Linked DNA regions of Homo sapiens: regions 1, 2, 4, 5, 6 and 7 are each linked to region 3. The links are contacts of gene promoters, found by promoter capture Hi-C in blood cells and fetal thymus (Javierre and others, 2016). All regions are on one chromosome and are shown on one strand. Each heading gives the region's core, a stretch centred on a gene start or on the middle of the fragment in contact. The rest is flanking DNA. Distances are from core to core; before and after follow the strand shown. Region 1 overlaps STON2 (stonin 2). Region 2 overlaps CEP128 (centrosomal protein 128). Region 3 holds the start of TSHR (thyroid stimulating hormone receptor). Region 4 has its middle 11 kb from the start of LINC02308. Region 5 has its middle 17 kb from the start of STON2. Region 6 overlaps STON2 (stonin 2). Region 7 overlaps STON2 (stonin 2).

Region 1 (3,028 bases), core at 122-2,621, 310 kb after region 3:
ATCAGAAACATAAGTTTCTAGGGAAATAAACTCTTACTCCCAGCCACTGGATTTGAATAGAAATCAGTCTCATTTCAAATAAAAAATATTTTAAATCAAACAATGTTCTCAAGGATTATGAACCCTGCCAATAATGCAGGAAGGCACAGTAAGGGAAGAGCCAAATAGAAAAAATGAAACTGTCCAGATAATATTTAATATGAATGAAATGCAAACTTTTGATAAGGAATAACTAGTACTATGTCTGCAAGAGCAGGCAAGGGGGATCATCTAATGGTCTCCCCACAAAGTGCCTCACATTGTCTTGTCTGACATGTCATGAGTACATTTCTTATCTTTTTGCTGTAAAGTCAAAAAGCAGGCCCTAGACTCAAAAGAAAGCACAGCTCTTGATACCACGTGATATCTAATTTATGTTCTAAGAGTAATACTATGTACTGGTAAAATGAATTCATTTTTAATATTTTCACATTATTGATAACAAAGATTATTTGTGACCACAAAAAAAAAAAATAAAAAGTCCAGGTCCAGGGTTGCAAAAGTAGAATCTGCATATCCACAGGTAATTTGCCCAACTGTTTTCTATGTAGGTTATTACATAGCTAATTTGCCCACTTGTATTTTCTTTAGAAGTTATTTAAACCTAGTAAAACACTCATTACGTCTAAAAATATATAGTATTATTATCCCCAAACCCCTAAATGCTACCCATAATCAGTTTCCTAAAAACAGTAGAGGGAAAACAAATTTGATGAAATTAAGATGTTAGGTTTTTAAAAATTAATAATAATTTGTGGGTCCAGCATGGTGGCTCACGCCTGTAATCCCAGAGCTTTGGGAGACTGAGGCAGGCTTATCACCTGAGGTCAGACATTCGAGACCAGCCTGGCCAACATGGTGAAACCCCATCTCTACTAAAAATACATAAATTAGTGGTGCATGGTGGCAGGCGCCTGTAATCCCAGCTACTCAGGAGGCTGAGGCAGGAGATTTGGGAGGCAGAGGTTGCAATGAGCCGAGATCACGCCATTGCACTCCAGCCTGGGCGACAAGAGCGAAACTTTGTCTCAGTAATAATAATAATAATAATAATAATAATACTCTGTCTCAATAATAATAATAATAATAATTTGTTTGCAGAATATAGATAGCATAGAAGGGATTTTTCCCAACTCTTGGTAAAAAAAACAAAAAAGTCCAGGTGCATGTACACAGGAAATGAGAATTTACCATGGGGGGCGGGGAAATAAGCTCCAACAAGCAATCCACATGTTATGCTAGCAGATGAGGCAGAGATCTTGACAGAGTGCTAAGCGTGAGTGACTAAGGAAGGTGCTGGGATGAGCTTCATTTCCCTTGCCAACTCTCCAATCCATTTAGATGTTCTATGAGGAATTAATCTCAAAAGCCTTCAGTACAACAGGGGAAGAGATATGCGTTGAAATTCCTTGACAAAAACCTCAAAGGAACTCCACTGTATTTCAAAGAGCATGAAAAACCACTTATGAAGAAAAAGACAAATGAAGTTAGAGAGTCTTATTACTATTGAGACTAAACCTATATTTAGAAGGAATCTTGGTAGACATATAGACCAAATCCAATGTAAGATTCCCTTTCACAGCACGTGGGATAGGTGGTTATTTTAACTGTTGGGCATTCACAGGAACAGGAAATCTTACTAACTTGAGTCTATTCCTCTTTAGAACAACTCTTATTAGACAATTCTTCCTTATATTGAAGCAAACATTTGTCACCTGTAAAGTTCCTCTTTGTTCTTATTTTTGCCCTTTGAAGCTACACAGAATAAATCTAATTCCTCTTCCTTTTCATAGCTCAATAGAAATTTCTAGGCAGCTATTGTATCATTCCCTCCTTGTCTGCACTCCCTTTCCAGCTATACCTTCTGTTCCTTCAGGGAAGCTACTCCCTTGTTCTTGCATCATCAGACCCTTTACAACCCTGGTCACCTCCCTATGGACACAATCAACTTATTAATGTCTCTCTTAAAATATGATACCCATAATTGAACTCAACCCTCCATTTAGATATGGACTAGATGGAGGGTTAATAAAAGCATGTAAGGCTTTTATTAACACCAGCTGACTACATTAGCTTTGTGAATAGCCATGATATATTTCTGATTCAACATTGAACCTCCATTTCTGTAAGGAAATATTTCTCTATAAACTACCGTGAAACCAGGTCTTCCTAACACCGTTCCCATCAACACCACACACATAAACACACACAAACACACACATCCACAAACACACACTCCACTCTGTACTTAGAGGGTTGCATTTTAAAAACCCAGAATATAGGGTTTCTCATTAATGCCTATTCAATCATCATTTTACTTTCAGTCTTAGTTCAGATATTTCAAAATACTGTAACTATTTCTATATCCCAGTGTCAATACACATTTAGACTCCAATGATTGTTCATTGAATACATTAATCTTGAATCCATCAGCCAAAAACTGGAGATATTTTTCATTTCTGCATCATCTACAAATCCAATGAAGTGTGCTTTCTGTCCCCCGACTTGTATTCTTCATGGGAGAAAACACTAAGATACAAATAAGAAGCAGAGGTGAGTAGGAACGGATGAAGGAAAAGAAGATTAATTGTCCCAGAAACAGATGAAGAAAAAGAAGATGGAGTGAGCGTTCTGACTCTTGGAATCAGAATATAATGTTCCCAACATTAGAAAAATATGGCTTTTCCACGTCTCTACCCTAGAGATGCCTTTTCAATCCAATCCAATACTGTGATTATCAAACTCTGAATTTTGGGGGAAAGCTCATTCAAGCTTAATTTTAAAACAGCTTTAAAAATTATCTTTGCAGCTTAAATTTCCTATAAAGTTGGGTTAAAGGGACATGCAACTGTCTATTGGTCATGAGGTATAAAAAGAACTCCCAAATGCCCCTTACAAATGCCTCAGGTATTATGTATATTTGTTTCAGGAATCAGAAGTGGACTGTATTTTTCAGTGTGAATTTGGGAATTCACTGAGATTGAATCTA
Region 2 (2,824 bases), core at 168-2,667, 350 kb before region 3:
TTTCCAGTCTCACCTTTCACCATCCCTTTCCATATTCTAAATTCTGATCACACTAAACTATTTGCAGCTCTTAAATGTATCATGCTCTCTTGAACCTCTAAATCTACATCTGTTTCTTCTGCCTGGAATGCCCTGCCTACCCTGTTTACCCTGGCTAACTCTTACTTGTCCTTCAGGATCCAGCAAAGCTTTCCCACGTGGGGTTAGATACTGTTAGTAATTGCTCTCACAGTCAGTACCCTGTGCCTTGCTTTAACACAGCACTGTCACATTATTTCTAAAAATAATAATGGTTTTCTTATTTACCTGATCTCCCTCCCCTATTAATTGAGAGCTCTTTGGGAACCACCAGGCATCTCTTTGCACTTATTCAACACAGTACCTGGAACCAGTAAACACTTAATAAATATTGACTATAGGAATGCATATTAAAAATGTATATTGAAGATTGAAGTATATTACATTTTTTGAGATTTGAGAGATTTCTGAACCATGACTTGGGACTATTAGAGACATACTAATGATACTGCAAAGACTAAGATTATAAATTTCTACAGTAGAGCTTTCATTTTCAATAAACCACATAATCAAATATTTGTTATATGTAATTTCAAATATAAAGCTGAGATATTTTAAACTCAGTAAAAGCATTTGGATAAGTAAATATTATGTAATTGGGAAGGGCTAGGCATGACTCATTTTTTTTTTCCAAAAAGTAACCTTGGTTAATATTTCAAGATTTGCCTATAAACTGAGCTTCCTTGTCTGTGACTGACTTTGAACCTTTTAAAACCAAAACATTAAGTTAGATATCTTGAAGTTCACTGCATGTATATAAGGAATTTTATATTATTAAGATGTGAATTTAGGGATCCCATTATTATGGTTCCCTCTGGCCCCCACCCCCATCCACTGGGTATTTGGGTGTCCATTTTCCCACATGGTGATGGATTTGCACTTTGCTTCATCAGGTCTCCCTTGGGCCAAGAACACATTTTAGCCATAATTATTGGAGCAGTCTGTGGCAGTGGAAAACCAAAGTTAACTGAACCACATGGAAATAAAACCCATGTCATTGGTGTCATTACCAGTACACCCTAACCAACAGAGTTAACCTCAATGTAAACAGCAGGCAAAAATAGCAAAACACTCCATCTTTTGGAGAAATCAGTCCGTTTGGAAAGAATGCAATAAGAAGGAAACACCTGAACTCATTTTTTTTGGACTAAAATGAGATACAAGTACTGATTTCTTTTTTTTTAAAATTATATATGTATGTGAGTCAAAAAAAAATCACACAGTTGGAAAAAAAAATGTTCACAGTGAAAAACATTCTTCACTCTCCAGTACTCAACACTGACTGCCCATCTCTCAGGTACCCTCAAGAGTCAACTTCTATTACCACTGTCTAAATTTTATTTCCATCTCAGTGTACTTGTTTATGATTATGCTATGTGTGTGTGCATGCATACAGTCATCTCCCTTTAATAAATGGTAGCACGTTATATACCCATTTTTAAAAATAATATATAAAACTTTCATCTGAAATTTATTCTGCTGAAAGCAGCGCAGTATGAATCATACTTTATCTCTTTTTTTCCAAATAAATGTCTATTGGTCAAAACCATTTATAGAATTATCAATCTTTCCCCCACTTATTTGAAATAAAATCTTACTGGGAACTAAGCTCTGTATATGTTTGAGTATATATCTAGGAATGCTACTGTTTTTATCATCTGTCTGATTATTTACTACTATCACTAATTTAACATTGTTTTATGTTTTGATAACTTAGAAGAGGTATAAACAGTAACATATCATGTAGTAAGAGACATAGATTGCTAAGTGTGGTACTGTTTTATAAATACTAAAAACTATAATTCATGGGATATTTTCATCAATATTGAACCTTAAATATTAACACATAATATGAGGATCAAACCTTTGGTTTAACAATCAAGTAAAAAGCATGAACACAATATTGGTATTATATGGGAAAACATATTTTCATTCACTCTTAGTAAGAGCATAAATCAGTACCTTATGGGAGAACATTACACAAACCCTACCAAAATTAACAATCCGTGTACTCTTTGACTTACCAATTCTACTTCTAGGAATTCATTCCACAGCCATACTTTCACTAGTGCAAAATGACTTATGCATGTTATTATTCACTGCAGTGTTACAGCAAAAACTGAAGGCATCTTAAATTTAAATCAGTAGGGAAACTTGTTAAATAAATTATATTCATACGATGGAGTTTCTACATAGTTATTAAAAAAGAACGAGGAAGTTCATTATACATTAATATAGAGAAATCTCCAAGAAATGGTAAGTAAAAAGTAAGATATTGAACAGCGGGTGGTATGCCATCATCTAGGTAAAAATGAATAGAAAAAAATGCATTCTTATTTACTCATATATGTATAAGTTATGCCTGGAAGGATACATATAAAAATAGGAGCATGCAACAGTGCAGCAAAGGAATAGAACTGAGAGTTCTATGTATTTTTCAGTAAATCTTTTAAAGTATCATTTTAGTTTTAAATCTTGGGATTAATGGTAAAACATATTTATTGAGAACCTATTATGTTTGAAAAACTATAAGATAAGGAGTTTTCACTTTTGTTTTAAATTATTCAATTAAGCTTTATTAAACATTCAAAGACTAAAGAGAAAATATTAAGAACCTTACATTGCCATGAATTATTAAAGAAAAAAAAAAGCAAACTAGATACCAGCATCAAATAACAAAAAAAGGAGATTAAAAAAAATCTAAGGTCATTTTGAGTTTGGAATGAGAAAAAATAATTCATGTACT
Region 3 (3,026 bases), core at 45-2,544:
TTTTATTGCAGAATAGTATTCCAATGTGGAGGTATCAGAGTTTGTTTATCCATTATCTAGTCGCGAGACACTTGGTTCGTTTAGTGGTTATGAATAAAGCTTCTGTAAAATTTGGAATACACATATTTTAAATGTACGGTTTAATGAATTTTGATAAATGTATACATCCACTTAACCTCCAGCCTAATTACGATATGGAAACCCTGTGTGTTCCCTCCTGTCTTTTTCTAGTCAATCTTTCCTAACCTTTATTCTGATTCCCATAACCACAACTTTTTCCTTCCTGTCCTAGCCAAGTTCATATAAAAGGAATTATGCAGTATAGAAGGAATTGACATTCCTTTTATCCCAAGAGGAATAAGTGATTGAAGACTTTTAAGAAGGAAATAGGCACAATCTGATTTATGTTTGTAATGATCTTTTTGGCTACTGTGCGAAGAATGGTGAGTATGCCACTTAAGTATTATTTTTCTTCCCATCTTCCAGGGGGAATATGACTCAATGAAATTCTTGGGTCGACCAGAATTTCCATACTGGACCCATTATTAAGGGAACCTGGAATTATTTCTGCCATTCCCGATTCTTCCCAGCAGATGGCCCCAAAGTTCAGTTCCTGAATTGCCTCGCGGAGCCGCGGGCTGCAACGTGAGGCGGCCGCTGCCAGTCGACTCAACCACCGGAGTGGCCCCTGCAGTTGGATAGCAACGAGAATCCTCCAGGGGTGCAGGGCGACGGCTTCGGCCGCACCGCGGGCTAGCCAGGGCTGCGTGCCCGCCTCTGACCCTCAGCAGAGGTGTCTCTGGCCAGGAGGAGCTGAAGTTCTGCAGGACATTGGTCCGCCCGCGGACAGTCCACTCCGCGGGGACTTTCTCTGGATAAGGAGTGCGTGCGAGTGGCTCCCAGGCAGACAGGGTGTCTAGAAGGCTACACGCTAGGGAAGGTGGCTCCTTGGATTTAAAGAGGAGGAAAGGAGGGGGCATCTAAACTAGGCTTTGGAGAGAACTAATGGGAGGGGCGCCCGGGGTGGGGGGGCGGGCTGGAAAACAGAGGGGACAGCCAGGACTGGTGTTGGGTGTCAGGGAACAGACGGAGCGGACTGCGTGGGTCCAGCCAAGGAAAGTGAAGCAAGCAGACTTGTTTGGGTCAAGGTTGCCTAGGGAAGCGGAGCACTTAAGTGCCTCTTTTTCCCCTTCTCCAGCCTCCTCCACAGTGGTGAGGTCACAGCCCCTTGGAGCCCTCCCTCTTCCCACCCCTCCCGCTCCCGGGTCTCCTTTGGCCTGGGGTAACCCGAGGTGCAGAGCTGAGAATGAGGCGATTTCGGAGGATGGAGAAATAGCCCCGAGTCCCGTGGAAAATGAGGCCGGCGGACTTGCTGCAGCTGGTGCTGCTGCTCGACCTGCCCAGGGACCTGGGCGGAATGGGGTGTTCGTCTCCACCCTGCGAGTGCCATCAGGAGGAGGACTTCAGAGTCACCTGCAAGGATATTCAACGCATCCCCAGCTTACCGCCCAGTACGCAGACTCTGTGAGTACCCGGGAGAGATCAGGGTAGGACCCAGAGATCAAGGGCATCTGCAGAGGTGGCCCGAAGTGCACAAAAGCAGCTCAATAACAGCCCGAAGTAGTGTGTGAGTGTGTGTATGTGTGAGTGAATGTCTGTGTGTGTAGATGTGTGTGTGTGCTAAAAACTTAATCGCCCACACTTGGGAAGGTATCATTGTTGACATCCTCATTCCCAACACAGGAAAATGTTACAAAACTTTGGTGTACAATGACCGTGAGAGCTGTTCTTTCCAACAAGCTGCTATTCAGCACTTTGCCTAACCCTGGTTGAATCTGTTTTATTTGAATTAATAAGGATAATGGCATCTCAGGAACTGACCTTTTTGATCTTACCTTGGGTAATAAAAAATTGCAAAAATATGTATTTCTCCTTTTTGTTTCTCTAGATGGGAGGTTATCTTAGCAGTTCTGCTGATTCATCAAATTGTTGACAAAGGTTTAAGCAGGGGCCCTTTTTAAAATGAACTGTCTATACAGTATCTGTAAGTTACTTACTCAAATGTGAACTGCCAGTGAAATAGTACGTCCAGAACCCTGCTTTGTGATAGAGGTATAAAGAAATGAAATTTCATAAAAGTATAGTACATTTATCTGCATGTTAAATGTTACCAGATTAGAAACCTGATGTTAAATAAGATTATACACACACAACCTGTTTCTTAACAGCAATTTAAATCAGTGATCATTGAAATTGTAGACAAAACCAAGGGAATAAAGTCTGTCTTGATTAGTTAAAAAGAGAACAGAAAGAAAGGACAGTAAAACAACCTAGGCTGGTTAAATCCAGTTAAGATAAAAAAAAATGCAGGTTATTAAAGAAAATGTTGATAGATGAAAAGAAATGGGAAAGTTGCACCTCTAGATTTTCTCAAGAATTTAGCTCATGAAGACTATTTAACAGTAGATGAATATTTGAGCACAGAGATATATTTCTGTGCTCAGAGATATCCTAGTGTCTTAGCACACCTGAATTAATTAGTTCAATAACCTCCAAACAGTGTGGTAGTCATTCTCCATGCTGCCACCACAGAATAAGATGTGTAAAAGGTGTAATGGCCTCTTGATTACACCTCTACATAGGTTGCTTGTCACCTCTAGAATAAAATTCTTTTGTGCAGCCTACCAGATCTTTCAAGACCTAGTCAAGTCTTTCCAACCTCATTGCTCCTCATTTCTCTAACTTCCCCCTCCTGCTGAGAACTTCTGGCACTTCCCCAAAGGTCCCTGCTGTTACAGCTGCCCTTGCCTTTCTTCCCACTTTCTGGCCCCTCTGCCTGAAGCACATTTCACCCATTTCTTCACCCAGCTAATGCCTACTCCCAGATCCAGATCCTGGATCAACCCTGCAGGAAGCTTCTCCTGACCCATGACCTTCAGGCTGGGTAAGCTATACCCCCCTTCCCAACAGCGTTCTCTGCATGAACCTAACCCTAGCCCTTAGACATTGTCTACTTTCTTGTAACT
Region 4 (2,829 bases), core at 274-2,773, 480 kb after region 3:
GAACAGTGTTGACCCTTACCTTAGGGTGAGCTTACAGTCATTTACTTTGAGGAGCCCAAGACCCCAAGAGGAAATTACCTCTGTTTTCTCCAGTTTATATCAATGGACAAACACTTGATTCACTTCAATTTTTTTTTTTTTTTTTTTTTTTTAGCCGGAGTCTCGCTCTGTCGCCCAGGCTGGAGTGCAGTGGCACGATCTTGGCTCTCTGCAACCTCTGCCTCCCGGGTTCAAGCTATTCTCATGCCTCAGCCTCCTGAGTAGCTGGGATTACAGGCACGTGCCACCACGCCCGGCTAATTTTTGTATTTTTAGTAGAGACGGGGTTTCACCATGTTGGCCAGGCTGTCTCAAACTCCTGGCCTCAAGTGATCGGCCCGCCCCGGCCTCCCAAAGTGCTGGGATTACAGGCGTAAGCCACCGCGCCGGGCCTCAGTTGATTCACTTTATATTGAATAGGTGGACACGCATGGGTTGAACCTCACCTGGGAGGAACACCAGACAGAGCACGGGGTGGTGTGGACTGTGTGAGGAGAGTTCTTTCATGGGCATCCCTCTCCAAGCATCGGAAGCACATGGAGACATCAGCCCATAATTCAGGTTGCTGGCTTTCCATAGCTGTGGCTTCTGCCAAAGCAGAAGTTCCATTTGGATTGGTCAAACTATCACTCCAAAGAAGAAGGACTGTTTCAGCCAGAGAACCAAGCTGACCCAAGATGGTTTGTCAAACTGCTCAACCCTCATCACATCACATTAAACTCAGCCCAGGGATGACAAGTGAAAGGATGGCAAATGAAGGAAGAGTGACAAGTGAAAGAAGAACCTGAATTCTACTTCCATTACCTTGGAATCTTACTGAGGCCAGGAACTGCTTATGTCTTGGTCTGTTCTCTGTCTCTAGCAAAATGCTTTATTTAGTTCGCCCCCTGTATCGCATTTCTTCCCTGGTGACTACTGCTTAGTGCTCAAAACTCAAATATTCTTTCCTCTGTGAAGCCTTCACTCATTCTCCCAGGCTAAGCTGTGAACCTCTTGCCGGTCTTATATTCCCATAACATCAATAAGCAACAGCATTCTAGTGATCTGCTCAAATGGCCATCTTTCTAACTAGCACACTGTGCATTACTTAGCGATGTATCCTCAATCAGTGTATCCCCAATTAAGTAGGTACTTAATAAACATGAAGTGACTGATGAAAACCCCTGACAGGCTAATAGGGTGGTATTAAGGAGACTAGGGCCACACCCTATCGTGGTCTTCAACAGGGCATTCTTCAGTTCCAGACTGGAAGGATATTTGGTGTGGAGCAAAGCGATCATCCATCCAATCCAACAATAATAGGTAGTTTCTGTGTGTCAAGCACTGTCAGGCCAAGAGAAGAATAAGCTCTTCTTTAAATGAACACAAGGTGAAGTGGTGCAGTTAATTTACAAGACAGTTTTGCTATTTCTCAAAAAGTTAAACATAGAGTTACCATATGACCCAGTAATTCCATTCCTTGATATACACCCAAGAGAACTGAAAGCATATGCCTACACAAAAACTTGTGCACAAATGTTCGTAGCATCATTATTCATAATAGCTGAAGGTAGAAACCACCCAAACGCCCGTCGATTAATGATAGATAAACAAAATGTATTAAATAGCACAGAAGGTCCTCCAATAACGTTGTTTCATTAGGATGTTGATGAGAAAAAAAAGATCAACTCCCAGCTGAAAGTTTGCATGTTCTCCCCACATCTGCATGGGTTTTCTCCAGGTACTCCAGTTTCCTTTTGCATTCCAAAGATGTGCACATTAGGTTCATTGGCATGTCTAAATTGTCCCAGAATGAGAGTGATGTGTGTGTGTGTGTGTGTGTGTGTGTGTGTGTGTGTGTGTGTGTCTGAGAGAGAGAGAGAGAGAGAGGCTTGCGATGGAATGATGTCCTGTTTGGGACTGGTTCCCTGTTGGCGTGCTGAGCAGCCAGATGGGCTCCAATCACCTGAGACCTTGAACTGGAGTAATGGGGCAAATAATTATCTTACTTGTTTTTATTAATCTTTTAAAAGTGTACATATAGCTCACATTTATTTCCAAATTTAATATTAGAAGGATTTTTGCTCTTTATTTAGCAGTTTGGTGATGTTTTTGTGACCAGAAATGTGCTGGAGGAACTTTATTCTTGTTTATGTCAATTCCCTTATGGGAAAATTGGGGGTTTTTATACATTGTTTTGCTTAAAGGTTGCCGTTTCAAGAACCTATCAATGACAATAAGTGAGAACTTACTGTATATCCACATAATGGAATATTATTCAGGCATAAAATAAATGAAGTACTGATAAAAGCCAAAATATGGATAACTCTAGAAAACATCATGCTATGTGAAAGAAGCCCGAAACAAAAGGCCACACACTGTATGATTCTATTTACATGAAATATTCAGAATAGGCAAATCCACAGAGACAGAAAGCAGATTAGTGGTTGCCAAGGGGAAATGAGGAGTGACTGCTTAATGGCTATGAACTTTCTTTTTGGGGTGATGAAAATGTTCTGTAATTAGTGGTTATGGTTATACAACTTTGTGAATGTGCTAAAAACCACTGAATTGTTAAAGAAAATTCACTGCATGCTCTCTGAGAATACATACATTCTGAAAGTGTGGAAACCATCAGTAATGGACGTGTTGGTTAAATCCTACGGTATAGTAGCTAAAAGTGAAAAGGAACTTTTCCAAGCCTGTGAAAAGCAGTTAAATGTGGCTCCCACCTTCAGCATCCCAGAGAAGATGTACTCTTTAGATCTGCGTTTTTCAACTGAATGTTCTGAGATGATGGAAATGTTCTTT
Region 5 (2,894 bases), core at 116-2,615, 460 kb after region 3:
GCTTCTTCAGTTTTTAATATTCTGAGAACTCAGAAAAAGCAAGGAACATAGGTCTCTCTCCACCACCTCTGAGAGGCCCTGAGCTTGCATGACAGCACAGGTTACTAAGGAGCATGACCAAAGGTCAGAAGCAGGGTGTGGGGAGCCCGGGGAGGCTTCCTGGAAGAGGCTGTATCTAACCTGAGTCTTAGGAGGATGCCTAGCATACCCTTCAGAGCACAAGCTCTTCGGGCAGCAGGCCAAGTCCCCCGTTGTTAACTCTAGCCATGGAACATCTCTGTCTCTGAAATGCTCTACGCCTGAGTTTCATCTAGTAGTATCTACCTCAGAGATTCTGTAAGATGCTGCAGGTAAACCTTTTCATGAATAATAAGCGCTCAGTCAATGCTATCTATTACCATTATTATTTCTACCCATAAAGATTGGGAGGAGTTAGCCTAGTCAAGAGAGAGAACAAGAACTTGCTGATTTCATTCCTGTGGTCATGGCATTCAGGAAGTGAAAGTGCAAAGAAGGAGGAGACCTTAGAAATTTCGGGAAAAAAAGGAAGTAGTGGTGTGAGCTTCAGCCTGAGACAGGAAAGAGCCTAGCTGGCTCAATGCGAGGCATCAGTTGGCCTAGAAATGAGTAGTGAGAGAAGGTACCGGAGGCAGGGTCAACACAGTGGACAACTTCAGGGCCCATTCCCATGGTCATCTATGTGAGCCATGCCCACGAAGAGTGTGTACCACACAGTCTGTGCAGTGGAAGGTGGCAACCTGCCTGTCTGGGTGCTCCACAGGCCCCTGAACAGAGGACACCGCTGCTATAATCGTCAGCCAAGGTGTCCTACTGCTGGTGTGGCCAAGTCATCTGGGCCATTTCAGTCAACAGGAGGCAGCACTGTGACCAAAGCTATGACCAACCTCTTTGGACCATAGGAAAACCATATCGAAGGGAGTCCAGTTGTGACATAAGGGTCTGGTTTTATCTAATTTATCAGTAGAGCTGCAGGCACACAAAACCTTTATGTTTAAAGCTCCTGCCAACACTCTCTATACCAAGAATAACAAGGATTAGAGGAAAACAGAGCTCCAGGCCACAAATCTCAAGCTTGGTGGGTAGCTCTACAATGAAGTCAGCTCAATGCAGATCTGTCTAGAAAAACATAGGGTTTTATTTCCCAGGTAGATGACGCAGAGGAAAAACTATTTCCCCCTTCCTCTTTTGTAAAAATCAAACTTTCCTTGTGGGTTGAACTGCCAACTCCCCTCAACTTGTTCCTGCCACTCAAGTCTTTAGCATCCCAAAAGGACTCACTGACACTCCATCCCTTGCATGCTTACACTCCCACAGCACTGTGTTGCACAACTCCAGGAGGTGCCATTCACACAATGCGACAAAAACCACGTTCTCTTATCTGACGCTGCCCCTAGAGCTATTCACCGCCCCGCCCCCGGCCCCCAGCTCTGCAACAGCACAGGCCCTCCCACATCACCATCCACACTGTAGAAAAGCAAAGAAATGTTGAATGTTCAGGAGAAAACCTTAACTGGGCAAAAAGATGAAAGTAGAGAAAACACCTTATAGCCACAGGAATCCTTGGTCTTGTTCTTTACTCAACAGAATAGAAGAAACAACAGTGATAGGAAATAACAATTAAGCTTGGGTGATAGGAGAATAGTAGTGCCATAGTATCTGAGGTAAGGGCAGAGAAGACCTCAATACATACCCTAAGGAAACTAGGAGTGGTCCCTTAAACTGTGCAATTAATTGGAGACAGGATAGGAAATACGTTTTTGGGATATGTTGAGATGCAAAGACTGTGAAAATGTAGATTTGGTGCCTAGAGAAAAATTACGGGTGAAAAGTTAGATTTTAGAGTCATCCAAGAAAAAACAAAGTATGCAGCCAAGGGAATGAATAGGTTATCAACAGGGGAAGTAAAAAGATAGAAGAAGATGACTGACTCTTGGAGCATGCCTACATAAGGGAGTGGGGCTGGGACGGGGGAAGTTAGACCCTCGGGTGACAGAGCCAGGCAGAGAGAGAGATAGAAAAACCAGAGGGCTCCAGGCTATGATGGCAAGAGGGAATTTTGAAAAAGAAGTTTTCTCTAGTGTCAAATGCTGAGGAGAGACATAAAGGGCCTTGAGTGGTCGCTGGTGACTTGAGAAAGCTTGCAGAGTTTAGCTTCTGGAGGGATGGACCCTTCCTGGCAGCATTTCTAGTGTTCAGAGCCATTACACAGAAGGAAAGTGTATTAGTCCATTTTCATATAAAGACATACCCAAGACTGGGCAATTTACAAAAGAAAAAGGTTTAACTGGACTTACAGTTCCACATGGCTGGGGAAGCCTCACAATCATGGCAGAAGGGAAGGAGGAGCAAGTCACATCTTACATGGATGGCAGCAGGCAAAGAGAGAGAGCCTGTGCATGGGAACTCCTCTTAATAAAACCATCAGATCTTGTGAGACTTATTCACTGTCATGAGAACAGCACAGGAAAGACCTGTCCCCATGATTCAATGACCTCCCACCAAGTCCCTCCTATAATACGTGGGAATTCAAGATGAGATTTGGGTGGGGACACAGCCAAACTGTATCAGAAAGCGACAAGCATTTGTAGAATAAAGTAGAACAGCTGAACTGGAAGCTTGATTGCAAGGAGTTAATAATAAACCCAGATTACAGTTTAAAGCTTAACGACTCTTAATACAGCTTTGTAAAAAAAAGGCAAAAAGTTACCAGCATACACATTGTTAATCCTGATTATGTGCTTCCCTGGAGGAAGTACTTTTCTGTTTACCTGGCACAGATTGAAGCTTGCCTCAGGTAAGGGGCAAGAGGCTAGTTCCTGGGATCTTTTCTGCCACAAATTCTCTGAATGACCACAGCACAACTGTAAAACCTC
Region 6 (2,886 bases), core at 321-2,820, 430 kb after region 3:
AAAGGCTTTTGTCACTCTCATTTTATTTTAATCATATTTTTATTTCTTTTCTTTTTTTTTTTTTTTTTTGAGATGGAGTCTCACTCTGTCACCCAGGCTGGAGTGCAGTGGCACAATCTTGGCTCACTGCAACCTCCGCCTCCCAGGTTCAAGCGATTCTCCTGCCTCAGCCTCCCAAGTAGCTGAGACTACAGGCACCCACCACCACACCCAGCTAATTTTTGTATTTTTAGTAGAGATGGCGTTTCACCATGTTGGCCAGGCTGGTCTCAAACTCCTGACCTTGTGATCCGCCTGCCTTGGCCTCCCAAAGTGCTGGGATTACAGGCGTGAGCCACCGCACCTGACCAATTTTAATCATATGTTTCTAAGGGAGACTGTATATCTCCTTTTTTCCCTGGCCAACCGTGATGGCACTTATTCACTTCAAACCCTGCCCTAATTAAAGTCCAAGAGAAAGTTGTTGCCTTGATGATTTAAGCATTTCTGGAGTTGTTTTTCCTACCAGCTGTTGCTCCTGGTTTTCCAATCAACCTTGGTATGCTTCAGTGCACAATAAAATAAGTAGCAGCCAGGTCACTAGGGTGGGGACTAACAACTCCCTGGCTTCTCTAAGGTTCTCAGTGCAGCTTCTAGCCATTTAAATACCATCAAAAATAAGAGACGTACCATTAATGACAGTCTCTTTGTCCCTAACTCCACTGTGCCTACAGCCTTGTTGCATTTTAATTAGGGCAAATAGTACATTCCAATTCCAGGCTGAAGTCCAATGCTCGCTTGGCTTTATTCTTAGGTGGCACAGTTTAAAAGATGTATTCTTTTGATTTTTACTCTTCATCTGCCAGAAAAACTTCAAAGAGTGGAAGAAAGGGAATTGGGGGATGGAAAAGGAATATCCCGGATAACCTCGCTACTTCCTCTGTGTGTGTTATGTGTGTGTGCTAGTCTCTTTCCCAACTTCTCTCTACAAGCCAGGATGTTCAGGTATAAAACAGCTGGCTAAGTAAGGTTTCACTTTTTCTTCCAGAAATTAAAACTAGGAAGAACACTGATCAGTTCTACTTCTCCTCCTCCTTCTCCTCCCACCACCTTTTTCTCTTACGACCTTCTCACAAAACAACATCCACAGAGGGGTTGCACAAGACAGGTACCAAGATAAACATTTTTACATCTCTCCCAACATGAAGACATCCGATCAGAAAGTATGGGCTCTTAATAGAAGTAAATGGAATATGAAGAGTAAAATGGGAAGAAATTAAACACTGCAACTATACATTATATATAGGAAAGAGTCAGTTTGCTCCAGTGATGCTGATGTGATTGGGAAAAGGGCTAAAGCCAAAAATTAGTTTCCACTGTTCCTTTTTTTCCTGGCTGAAATTTTTTTCTTGCACGCACAGAGACACACCTACATACTCCAAACTTCACCAAAGATTCCAAATTTTTGCATTTAAATACAGCACACCAAACACCTCTCTTGCCCTAATTCCATTTCATTCTTGCGTTATCCATGCTAAAAAGAGTTTGCTCAGTCTACATGAGTGAAGCTATAGCCCAAAATAGATCTAACATCTGACTGATGGAAATTAATGAACTAAGAAAAGCATTTTAGAGTGGATAAATGAGAAATTGATGGGCAAATCATTTCTATGTGGTCAGTTTAGACAAAAAGCACGAGAGGGCCATTTTGTCTAAGCTGGTCACCTAGCCGCCAGCAAACTGGCCACTACTTGGCCCACAGCTAGGTGGCCAATTTAGACAAAAGTTTCTCCTAGGTCAGTAGTGCCTACTTTCTCCAAGTGAGGAAAACTGGATAAAACTGAGTAAGAGCTGTGGGGAAGCCCCAGAAGTAAACGATAATTAACAAGGGAAGTTGCTTTAAATTCTGATTTTCATCCTTCACAGGAAGAGACAATAGATGCACCTGTCATAAAATGAACTTCTCAGACAAGTAATTCTCCCAGCATCCACTTATTCCTTTGCTTCCTCAGAGCCAGTTTCAAATTCTCAGCTGTATGAAATGAAAAACGTAGGCCAGGCATGGTGGCTCATGCCTGTAATCCCAGCACTTTGGGAGGCCGAGGTGGGCCGATCATTTGAGGTCAGGAGTTTGTGACCAGCCTGGCCAACATAATGAAACCCATCTCTACTAAAAATACAAAAATTAGCTGGATGTGATGGCACACGCCGTAATCCCAGCTATTTGGGGGCTGAAGCAGGAGAATCACTTGAACCCAGTGAGCTGAGATTGCGCCACTGGACTCCAGCCTGAGTGACAGAGTGAGACTCCATTTCAAAAAAAAAAAAAAAGAAAAACTTAAAAACAGAAAGACAAGTAGTGGTTGAAAGACAACCGCAAGAGATGGTAATCACAGCAGCACAGGTTGGCTCTGGTTTGCTACTAGAGGATCCAGGAAGAAGCCCAGTGGATTTCTGCTCAATTCTGAGCACTGCGCTATGTCTTTGAATATCCACACCTAGCAGAACTATACAGAGGAAGTGCTTAGTAAATATCTGGTGACTCAATGAGTAAATTATAAGGAGCTGTAAGGTTTAGGGACAAAGCACACTGACATGCACACATCTCCTTAAGAAATACCCTGCATCGTGAGCTGGGATCGCGCCACTGCACTCCAGAGCCTGGGCAACAGAGCGAGACTCCGTCTCAAAAAACAAAACAAAAAACAAACAAACAAACAAACAAACAAAAAGTCCTGCATCATTACAGATTTACAGATGCTCCCCTAATTCAGACTGACTCATTCTCAGCCTTATGCAAAGGGTTCCATTTTAAGATTTTACAGACTTAGTACATTAGTTTCCTATGGCTGCTGTAACAAATTACCACAAACTTGGTATCTCAAAACAACAGTAATTTATTCTCTC
Region 7 (3,172 bases), core at 480-2,979, 340 kb after region 3:
TTCTTAAGATTTCTGATTAAGCTTGTGTAAGAGGAAATAAGCACATACCATCTTCAGCCACCTGGCAAAACTGAACCAAGGAAAAAGATCTTTATGGTATGAGTTTTTCTTTAAAGTATTTAATTTGGGGTTGGATTCTCTAACCCTACAGGGCCCTTGGGGACTTCCGGAGTGTGTCAGGCACTTTGGTGACTCCTGGAGTTGACTTCAGGTTTCAAGGCAGGAGAGGTAGCTGGAAGGACGGAAAGATAAAAATCTACCACCGCTGCCTCCAAGACAAGTAGTGGCCTGGCTGACCCTCACCAACCAGGTACTGTATGCCAGCTGGTCTGTCTAGAGCTATACCAAAATGATCTCATTTGATCTAGGAGACATCTGTATGAGGTAAGTCTCCATTACCTCTATTTTAGTAAGGGGGGACACTAAGGCACAGAGGTTAGGTGACATGGCCAAAGTTACAAAGCTAGTAAGAGGAAGAGCTAGGATCTGAACCCAAGAGGTCTGAGTTGGCAACCCTTAGTCTTAACCACTCTGGTATACTGCAGCATTTGGACTGTAGCTCTACATTGTTAGAACTGTCCAATCTTGAGCAAATTTCTCAATTTCTGAGTCTGTTTCCTCACTTTTAAGGAGGATAATGATATTTCCTATGCCCCACAATATGGTTGTGAGGACCAAATAAGACATGTGAATGCTACTGTAAAATATGGCATGCTATATGATTTAAATTATTTTCATTATTACTGGTAAAAAATGACAAGGAGCACTTATTCATTCATTTTGAGGTTTGAGGTTTGTTTTGCTTCGTATAGTATAAAACTTTCTAACTTTAATAATCAATAGAAAGTAATAAAAATAACTGGCCAGCTGGGCACAGTGGCTCACGCCTGTAATCCCAGCACTTCGGGAGGCCGAGACGGGCAGATCACCTGAGGTCAGGAGTTTGAGACCAGCCTGACCAACATGGAGAAACCCCATTTCTACTAAAAATACAAAATTAGATGGGTTTGGGGCGCATGCCTGTACTCCCAGCTACTCGGGAGGCTGAGGCAGGAGAATCGCTTGAACCTGGGAGGCAGAGGTTGTGGTGAGCCAAGATGGCGCCATTGCACTCCAGCCTGGGCAACAAGAGCAAAACTCTGTCTCAAAAGAAAAATAATAATAACTGATATTTATTGCCATGCACATTAAGTACTGAGAAAGAGGAGAAAACATTCCTTCTATCAGGAATCTGTAATTAGAAAGAAAAAAAGGAGTCAAATAGAGCTCCTTGTGGGGGCTCTATAATTCCAGCGATGAAGCCTATTCTAGATGCGGGTGCCCTTCCAGGAAGGAGAAATGAGCTATCAAGAAATTGTGAATCTCCAGATAATGACTTCCTGTTCCACAAAAACAAAGCACAGCAGCTGGAAATAACAGTCTATCTCCAATCCCTATTCCACATCCTAGGGCTGTCATCCACAGACTAGTCTGAGGGAGGCTTCCTCTAGCTCCAGGCCTCTAAAGCCTCAACTGCTTCAGATGGGGGGGGGGAATCACAGAATTTAAAAGCCAAACTTACTAAGAATTACCCCTGAGCAAAGTCACCCTGGACTCAGACTCCATCTGTTGCAAGTCATTAAATTCCCAAGCGCGGCTGAAATCCCTGATCTATATACCTCTGTCATGACACACACAATCTGTTGGTGTTTATTTTCCTGCTCTGGTAAGTTCCCAAGGAAGAGAAACTACAGAAAAGCATGTTGAACAGAACCATGCTAGGAGTTTCATCCAGGAAACTGAAGTTGGGACAGATGAAAAAATGAGCACCTTCTAAAATTAAATGATTAAAGGATCAACAGAGAAATCCTTAGTCACCCACCACGAAATGGTTTGTGAATATGTTGCTCTCAGAGATTTAAGAAACACCCATATCCAAGCAAGGTGAGTTGGATATAATTTTAGAAAGACTTGGTAGAAATGTGTTTGAAGTGTATTAATCTGTAATCTAATTAATTATATAGAATTTTAAAACTTTTTAAAACACAATTCATCCATGTCACTAAAGAAATTTAGAAAATACAGACAAGAGAACGACATAAAAAGTACCCAAAGTCCCACCTCTACCACCAAAATAAGAGACATCTGTTTTGTTAAGAAGGTTGATAAAGGAAAAACTGAAAATAGCAACAGCCCAAAACACTCATAAGTTCTAGCCACATGGCTCAGATCAAGTGACACCAAACTGTATTTGGTACTAGAATCATGGTGGTCACTTTAAACCACATGCCTGGGCTTGTCTTAGGCAACTCTTCTGCATCCACCAGGAATATTGCAGAAGTTACCCATACATGCACAGAATTAACGTGTTATACAAACATATATGTGAGACTATCTCAATAAAGGTAGAAAAAGTATGGTAAAATTTAACTTACATTAACTGTAATAGTAATACTATTATCACCATACTAAGAATGGAAGGGAACTTCCTCAACCTGATAAAGGGCATATACAAAAAGAAAACCCTCAGCTAACATCACAATGGTGAAATATTGAAAGTGTTCCTCCCAGTCTCACCTATTCAGCGTTGTAATGGAGTCCTTAGGCATTGCAACAAGGCAAGAAAAAGGAATAAAAAGTAAAAGAAAGAGGTTGAGCCCTGTGGCTAACTTATGAGCATTTTGGGCTGTTGCTGTTTTCAGTTTTTCCTTTATCAACCTTCTTAACAAAAGTAAAAATAATTGTAAAACTGAATACAGCAAGTCCTCAGGATACAAAGTCATTCTTTAAAAACTCAATTATATATTAAAATACTAGTAACAAGTCAACTGGAAATAAGACCTCTAAAAATATTGTTTACTATAGCATAAAAATATCAACTACATAGAAGTAAACTTAATAAAAGATGTGTAAGGCCTCTTCACTGTTGAGAGAAGTTAAAGAAGGCCTAAATAAATGGAGAGATTTCATGTTCATGGATTTGAAAACTCAAAATTGTTAAGATGGAAAAAAAATTTTTTTTTTTTTTAAATTGATCTATAGAATCAATATGATTCCAATAAAAACTCCCAGGCTTAAAAAAATTTTTTTGATAGTTGGTCAATTTCTATCAAAGCCTATCAATCACCAAGACAATCTCAAAGAAGAAAAATGTTGTAGGACTCAAAACTACCAAATTTCAAGATTGACTATA

The links. Contacts are between HindIII fragments. The CHiCAGO score rates a contact against its expected background, and 5 or more counts as called.
Region 1: a fragment that was not itself captured here is called in contact with the fragment with the promoter of TSHR in region 3 in 16 of 17 cell types (fetal thymus, non-activated CD4 T cells, activated CD4 T cells and 13 more); the score reaches 12.6 in fetal thymus.
Region 2: a fragment that was not itself captured here is called in contact with the fragment with the promoter of TSHR in region 3 in 1 of 17 cell types (fetal thymus); the score reaches 5.5 in fetal thymus.
Region 4: a fragment that was not itself captured here is called in contact with the fragment with the promoter of TSHR in region 3 in 12 of 17 cell types (fetal thymus, total B cells, non-activated CD4 T cells and 9 more); the score reaches 12.8 in fetal thymus.
Region 5: a contact is called between a fragment that was not itself captured here and the fragment with the promoter of TSHR in region 3, in 3 of 17 cell types (monocytes, non-activated CD4 T cells and neutrophils). The highest score is 8.4, in monocytes.
Region 6: a contact is called between a fragment that was not itself captured here and the fragment with the promoter of TSHR in region 3, in 2 of 17 cell types (neutrophils and monocytes). The highest score is 5.2, in neutrophils.
Region 7: a fragment that was not itself captured here is called in contact with the fragment with the promoter of TSHR in region 3 in 2 of 17 cell types (total CD8 T cells and neutrophils); the score reaches 6.1 in total CD8 T cells.

Annotation. Positions count from the first base shown.
Region 1 is chr14:81,264,577-81,267,604 of GRCh38, forward strand. STON2 (stonin 2) reads right to left here. Exons shown (of 8, transcript NM_001394390.1): 8 at 1-3,028. Among named protein-coding and RNA genes, the nearest start is that of GTF2A1-AS1, 45 kb to the left of the region's middle. The HindIII fragment of the contact is 2,875 bases long and covers 1-2,809 here.
Region 2 is chr14:80,608,571-80,611,394 of GRCh38, forward strand. The region is part of intron 19 of CEP128 (centrosomal protein 128); the gene reads right to left. Among named protein-coding and RNA genes, the nearest start is that of CEP128, 330 kb to the right of the region's middle. The HindIII fragment of the contact is 2,463 bases long and covers 187-2,649 here.
Region 3 is chr14:80,954,327-80,957,352 of GRCh38, forward strand. It overlaps TSHR (thyroid stimulating hormone receptor), which reads left to right and starts at 1,295. Exons shown (of 10, transcript NM_000369.5): 1 at 1,295-1,524. The coding sequence starts at 1,355. It also overlaps a transcript of CEP128 not described here. The HindIII fragment of the contact is 2,816 bases long and covers 98-2,913 here.
Region 4 is chr14:81,437,725-81,440,553 of GRCh38, forward strand. No RefSeq gene overlaps it. Among named protein-coding and RNA genes, the nearest start is that of LINC02308, 11 kb to the right of the region's middle. The HindIII fragment of the contact is 5,276 bases long and covers 1-2,829 here.
Region 5 is chr14:81,415,848-81,418,741 of GRCh38, forward strand. It overlaps a transcript of STON2 not described here. Among named protein-coding and RNA genes, the nearest start is that of STON2, 17 kb to the left of the region's middle. The HindIII fragment of the contact is 551 bases long and covers 1,091-1,641 here.
Region 6 is chr14:81,387,899-81,390,784 of GRCh38, forward strand. The region is part of intron 3 of STON2 (stonin 2); the gene reads right to left. Among named protein-coding and RNA genes, the nearest start is that of STON2, 11 kb to the right of the region's middle. The HindIII fragment of the contact is 5,426 bases long and covers 1-2,886 here.
Region 7 is chr14:81,296,892-81,300,063 of GRCh38, forward strand. The region is part of intron 5 of STON2 (stonin 2); the gene reads right to left. Among named protein-coding and RNA genes, the nearest start is that of GTF2A1-AS1, 77 kb to the left of the region's middle. The HindIII fragment of the contact is 3,420 bases long and covers 20-3,172 here.